2 separate regions of the Homo sapiens genome follow, and region 2 is linked to region 1. The links are contacts of gene promoters, found by promoter capture Hi-C in human tissues and cell types (Jung and others, 2019). All regions are on one chromosome and are shown on one strand. The core of a region is centred on a gene start or on the middle of the fragment in contact, and the rest is flanking DNA. Distances in the headings are between cores, read along the strand shown. Region 1 holds the start of GPR12 (G protein-coupled receptor 12). Region 2 has its middle 180 kb from the start of GPR12.

What was found. The method cuts DNA at HindIII sites, captures the fragments that hold promoters and counts their contacts. A contact is called where the count stands out against the background at its distance.
Region 2: a contact is called between a fragment that was not itself captured here and the fragment with the promoter of GPR12 in region 1, in 1 of the 25 tissues and cell types used here (H1 embryonic stem cells).

The regions. Positions count from the first base shown.
Region 1 is chr13:26,759,188-26,762,489 of GRCh38, reverse strand. GPR12 (G protein-coupled receptor 12) reads left to right here and starts at 1,704. Exons shown (of 2, transcript NM_005288.4): 1 at 1,704-1,911; 2 at 2,648-3,302. The coding sequence starts at 2,663. The HindIII fragment of the contact is 6,005 bases long and covers 1-3,302 here.
Region 2 is chr13:26,936,511-26,940,098 of GRCh38, reverse strand. No RefSeq gene overlaps it. Among named protein-coding and RNA genes, the nearest start is that of GPR12, 180 kb to the right of the region's middle. The HindIII fragment of the contact is 4,444 bases long and covers 1-3,588 here.

The DNA.
Region 1 (3,302 bases), core at 455-2,954:
GACTGTTCATTTTTCATCGCTTCATTCTAAAATTCTTTGATGCATCATGTAGAATTGAGAAGAAGATTACATCCCTTCATGACAGCATTTGCTGCCTGGCATTATTGTTGATTTGTGTGTGTGTCACTACCAGACTGGAGACCGTGTCTTACTGAATTTCTATGCCCAGCCCTTAGCCCGGTTCTTGGGACACACACGAGTCTGATGCCTCCCCACCATGAACAAGCCACTCTGAAAACTCCATAGAACCTTGCTTCTCAAAGTGTGATCTGTCAACCAGCAGCAGCAGCAGCATCACTGGGGAAGAGGCTTGCAAATGCAGAAGGTAGGCCCACCCCAAGAACTACTGAGCAGAATCTGTCAAGGTAAAAAGTTCAGACTATTCTGGAGGTAGCAGGAGGTCTTGGACATCATGGAATAGATGTGCCAAATCGAGGAGGTTGGGAAAGGGAGAGGCAGGTGGGTACCAGAAATGCAGGTGAGAGGGGATGAGGGCCTCAACCAGGGAGCTGAGGATGATGAGAAGTGGCATGCAGGGAGAGCTGGAGTGACCTTGCAGAGCCAGAAACTGATTGATGGAAGAAGGGAAGGAGAAGCGGGAAGAAAGTCAAGGGTGATTGAGGCTCCGAATCTGTTGGGCTGGGGTAGAGAAGACGTGAGCACCAGGGGAAGGCAGGCTGGTCAGCTGATGATGCCCCTGTAGGGTCCCTTGCCTGCAGACCATCTCCATTCATACAAGAGCCCCTGGGCAAGTGGAAGAAAAGCAGTGGGAAAACCTTCACCTCTGACAGGGCAAGACAAGACTATCACACTTTTTCCTTATCCCATCTTTAAACTGGAGGATCATCTTGGAACTTAAGATCTATGAGGTGCTCTGGTTTTTATATCCAGAGGAGGCATGGGATCATAAAAGCAGACAGCTATCAGGTTCTTCATCTTAGAATCCATTGATGTGGCAAAATGAAAAAATAAATTAATAGTGCCACTTCAGTATCTAAATGAATTGGGGTTTGGCCAATGTCTGCAGGAAGCTTCTACAAGAACTCAGTAAATGATTTCCATTTGAAAACACAGCTCAAAGAGCGCTTAATAAGTGCAATTTGGTGATGATAATGATGATCCACAGAGCAGCAGCATCTATCCAGTCAAGCAAATGTTCCTGGGGAACAGTGATAATGAACCAGGTCCAGGACCATGGGCAATTCTAAAAGAGCGTGCGGGGCATTTTGTTGTTTTAAAGATCTGCTTCCCTAACCTGTCCACCCCGCATCCCTGCTGCTGATCGTGAATATCATCCTAAGCAATTCTTTTGGCCCTGAATGTAGTGGTTTAGGTAAAGGCGTGGAAAAGCCAGGACTGTAGAGACTTGGAGCTCCCCAGGGAAACCACAGGAACGAAATAGGTCACAGGGCTCCAGGCAGCGCTCCCCTGCCCCGCCCGGTGCAAGCCCGGGGCCGCCGGCTGGGGTGGGGCGCGCAGCGCGGCAGGCAGGCAGGGCTACCATGCAGTTCTCAGCCTCCTGGCTCCTTCGCCCCTCGCCCCGCGCCCCTGGGCCGCCCTCGCCTGCCCGCACCCTAGAGCAGCCCTGACCCGTGGGGGCGCGCGGCCTCGCGGGGATCCCGCGGGCGGGCGGGCGGCCGGGCGCGCGCGGGGCGGGGGCGGCGCGCGCGCGGGGAGCGTGTGGGCCGGGCGGGCGCGGCGGGGAAAGCTGGGCGCGCGAGCCGAGGCTGCTGCTCACCTGCAGCCGCGCCGCTCACCTGCCGCGGAGTGCGCGCCCCGCGCCCTCCCGGCCCGCTCCGGAGCCCGGCCGCCCCCCCCTTGCCACAGCGGGCAACTGCGCCGACATGCGACACGAGTAGCCCACGCGCTTCGGAAGCACCGGAGGAGCCCCCTCGGCCTGGGCGAGCCAAGGTGACCCCCTCGATGACCCCCCCGCCCCCGCGGGCCGCCTGTCCCCGCACCCTGTCTGTCCCCCTCGCGTCCGACTCCCGTCCCCGCCGCCAGGGAATCGGCAGCAGTGCATGGGCATCTGTCTGTCTGTCTGTCTCGGTACTTCCATTGCACACACCTCCCTCTCGTGGCCCTCCCGACTGCCCCGTGCGCACGGGGGGAGTCTGGAGCCCCTCTTTGTTCCGGTCGGGGGTGCGTTTGAGGATGTGCACGCGCGCGGGGGATGCGTTTGGAGGGTGGGAGTTCGATGGAAATAGGCGATTTAAATATTCCATCGAGGATGGCGGCCCCTGGCTCGAGACCTGCCGCTGCCGCGTGGTTTTCTCGGCAGCAGCCCAGATGTCAAACAGTTGTTCGTTTTCAGCATGCAAGATGTGATTTTCCAATGTGCATTCCCAGCGCTGTTGCAAACAGACCGCCGCGAGTCCGTGTGTGCCTGCCTCGCTCACGCTGGTGTTTTGAAGTCCTACCCTGTGTTTTCCCCAATGCCAAACGGCATTTTTGTTGTGGGGTTTAAACCACAGAGACTTTGGCTTTTGTTTCATTTCCCAACAGTTCCTCATTCCCGAAGCTTGTGGCATTTGGTACTGGTATCTGAGCAGGGGCTGGCTTTCTGTTTGTCTGTGTGTTTTTTGCATGATCTTGGATTGTCACCCTGCTGTATTTAAACATTAAAAAGCCTGTCTTTTCGTTGAAGAGGACAGGGGTTAAAATGAATGAAGACCTGAAGGTCAATTTAAGCGGGCTGCCTCGGGATTATTTAGATGCCGCTGCTGCGGAGAACATCTCGGCTGCTGTCTCCTCCCGGGTTCCTGCCGTAGAGCCAGAGCCTGAGCTCGTAGTCAACCCCTGGGACATTGTCTTGTGTACCTCGGGAACCCTCATCTCCTGTGAAAATGCCATTGTGGTCCTTATCATCTTCCACAACCCCAGCCTGCGAGCACCCATGTTCCTGCTAATAGGCAGCCTGGCTCTTGCAGACCTGCTGGCCGGCATTGGACTCATCACCAATTTTGTTTTTGCCTACCTGCTTCAGTCAGAAGCCACCAAGCTGGTCACGATCGGCCTCATTGTCGCCTCTTTCTCTGCCTCTGTCTGCAGCTTGCTGGCTATCACTGTTGACCGCTACCTCTCACTGTACTACGCTCTGACGTACCATTCGGAGAGGACGGTCACGTTTACCTATGTCATGCTCGTCATGCTCTGGGGGACCTCCATCTGCCTGGGGCTGCTGCCCGTCATGGGCTGGAACTGCCTCCGAGACGAGTCCACCTGCAGCGTGGTCAGACCGCTCACCAAGAACAACGCGGCCATCCTCTCGGTGTCCTTCCTCTTCATGTTTGCGCTCATGC
Region 2 (3,588 bases), core at 347-2,846, 180 kb before region 1:
TCTTGGGCTCAAGCGATCCTCCTGCCTCAGCCTTCTGAGTAGCTTGGACTATAGGTATACACCACCATTCCTGTATAACTTATTTTTTATTTTTGGGATAGAGTCTCACTCTATTGCTCAGGCTGAAGTGCAGTGGCATGATCTCGGCTCACTGCAACCTCTGCCTCCCAGGTTCAAGCGATTCTTGTGCCTCAGCCTCCCAAGTAGCAGGAACTACAGGCTCAAGTCACCATGCCCAGCTAATTTTTGTATTTTTAGTAAAGATAGGGTTTTGCCACGTTGGCCAGACTGATCTCCAACACCTGGCTCAAGTGATCCACCTGTTTTGGGCTCCTAAAGTGCTTGGATTACAGGCATGAGCCACTGCACCTGGCCAGGGCTATTTTTTTTTTTTTTAATTTTGGTAGAGTTGGAGGTCTTTCTCTGTTGACCAGGCTCATCTCGAACTCCTGACCTCAAGCAATCCTTTGGCCTCAGCCTGCAAAAGTGCTGGGATTGCATGTGTGAGACACTGCATCTGGCTGGAAGTTTGGAAGTTTATTTCTGACTTTTGAGGTCCAAAATTGGTGCAGGATATTTCTGTGGGTGGCCTCAGACTGACCCAGTTCTTCCCCCTTTCATACTTGCAGTTCTTAAGAATAACTGTAGAATATGCCTAGAATACAACATCCTGAGATGGGCTGCCCAAAACAGCCTGATCCTTGTTCCTGTTCCTCCTAGAAAATGTAACATCTTGAGTTAGAGAGGAAATGCCTGGGGCAGCCAAGGCTTTGATTCTCTCTTCCCTGGAAGTAGAATGCCCCTCAAGGTTTTAGCCCAGTGGGTCATGTGCCCCTGAGCTCTATAACCCAGGGCAGGCTGCCTTTTGGGGGTCCCTCAGCTGTGATGCAAGTGAGACATGCACAGTTGAGAATCCATCCACCCTGGACAGCTTTCTTGAGCCTTGGAGGCCTGATATGGTTTGGCTCTGTGTCCCCACCCGTATCTCATGTTGAATTGTAATTCTCAATCCTGGGGGAGGGTCCTGGTGGGAGGTGATTGGTTCATGGGGATGGATTTCCCCCTTGCTGTTCTTGTGATAGTGAGTGAGGTCTCATGACTTCTGATGGTTTAAAAGTGTGTGGCTATATACCCAGTAATGGGATTGTTGGGTCAAATGGTACCCAAAGGACTATGAATCATTCTACTATAAAGACACATGCACGCATATGCTTACTGTAGCACTATTTACAATAGCAAAGACATGGAATCAACCCAAATGCCCATCAATGATAGACTGGATAAAGAAAATGTGGTACATATACACCATGGAATACTATGCAGCAGTAAAAAGGAATTAGTTCATTTCCTTTGCAGGGACATAGACGAAGCTGGAAACCATCATTCTCAGCAAACTATTGCAGGAACAGAAAACCAAACACCACATGTTCCCACTCATAAGTGGGAGTTGAACAGTGAGAACACAAGGACACAGGGAGAGGAATAACACACACCAGGGCCAGTTGGGGGGTTGGGGGCAAGGGGAGGGATAGCATTAGGACAAATAGCTAATGCATGCGGGGCTTAAAACCTAGACAATGGGTTGATAGATGCAACAAACCACCATGACACATGTATACCTGTGCAACAAACCTACACATTCTGCACTTGTATCCTGGAACTTAAAGTTAAAAAAAAGTGTGTGGCACTTGCCTCTTCACTGTCTCTCTCTCTCCTGAGGCCTCCCAGGTTGTGCCTCCTCTACAGCCTGCAGAAATTTGAGTCAATTAAACCTCTTTTCTTTATATATTACCCAGTCTCAGGTAGTTCTTCATAGCAGTGTGAGGATGGACTAATATAAGGTCTGGCTCACAGTGAATCTTATGCTCTTTTGTCCCTTGCTGCCTTCTGCACGTCATAAATCTGCTTTATGTAACTTGTTGCACATGTGTGTGTTCTGTCTCGCTGGACTCAGACAAGTTGGTTGGTAACCAGTACATGATGAACCTACTTTATAACTGGTTTCCAGATCAGAGAAGGGTTCTCCTTCAGGTAGTGATTCAGCATCCCAGGATCATTAATCTAGTGGCTTCCCCATCTTCTGCAAATCATTTTCATGCTCTTTTTTATGATCTGGCAGAAGGGGAAAGAGCACAGAGACCCATACACAGGAAGGTTTCATGGGCCAGGCTGGAGCCCAGTTACATGACCACCCTAACCACGGGAGGCTGGGAAACATAATCCAGTTGTGTGCCCAAGGAGAGAGATGGGTTTCATGAACAACATTTCCTGCCATGGAACAATAGGGAACAACGGAATGAACAGAAGCCCAGCACTGACTGTTACTGTTCACAGAGCAAGTTAGTTTAGTTACCTAAAGTGACTATATGTCAGCTTAGAATATGAAGCTATTTTCACATGAACTCCTATGAAAAAACAATGGCGCTTGTCAGAGGCCTGTCAGCTCTCAACAGTGTCCCATTATTGGCAGAGGCTGCCGCAGTGGAATAAAGCAGAAACTGCCTTCTAAATCATAAGACTCCATACTCAAACAGCTCAGAGTCTAATCAGCATCCTCCTCAGAAAGAGCAGGAAGTTTGCAGAGTGGGAAGGCTTGGCCCCTGTGGTGGTGGTGGGGGAGCTGGTTGTGTTGGGGCCTATTCAGATGAGAGATCATTGAGTGGCCTTGTGTATGATACTGCAGGACCTGAGTCCACTGAAAGCTTTGGCCATTTTTTTGGACTCCTAGTGGGATGGGAGCTGCTGGGAGAAGCTTCTCCTAAAGGAGACCCAGTGGGACCTGGTGAAGCAGGAGTAGAACCCTGAAAGAGCCCCAGTGAGGAGTAGTCTTGGTTGCTAAGTGTTTTAGTCCATTTGTGTTGCTATAAAGGAATACCTGAGGCTGGGTAATTTATAAAGAAAAGGGGTTTACTTGTCTCACAGTTTTGCAGGCTGTACAAGAAGTGTGGCCCCAGTATCTGCTTCTGGTGAGGAACTCAGGATGCTTCCACTCATGGTGGAAAGGGAAGAAGAATTGAGGTGTGCAGAGATCACATGGTGAGAGAGGAAGCAAGAGAGAGAAAAAGAGAGAGAGAGCAGGGAGATGTCAGGCTCTGTTAACAACCAGCTCTCATGGGAGTTAATAGAGCAAGAACTCACTCAGCACTGTGAGGACAGCACCAAGACATTCATGAGGGATCTGCCTCTGTGACCCAACTACCTCCCACTAGGCCTCACCTCCAACATTGGAGAACAAATTTCAACATGAGATTTGGAGAGATAAGCATCCAAACTATAGCATTCTGCCCTTGGCACCCCAAATCTCATGTCCTTCTCACATGCAAAATACCATCATTTCTTGCCAATATTCCCAAAAGTCTTAATTCATTTCAGCATTAACTCAAAAATCAAAGTTCAAAGCCTCCTCTGAGACTCAAGGCAAGTCCCTTACAACTGTGAGCCTATTAAATCAAAATCAAGTTATTTACTTCCAAGATACAATGGTGGTGCAGGCATTGGATAGACACTCCGATTCCAAAATGGAGAAATCAGCCAAAAGAAAAGGGTAATAGGCCCTATGCGAGTCTGAAACCCAGCAGGGCAGACATT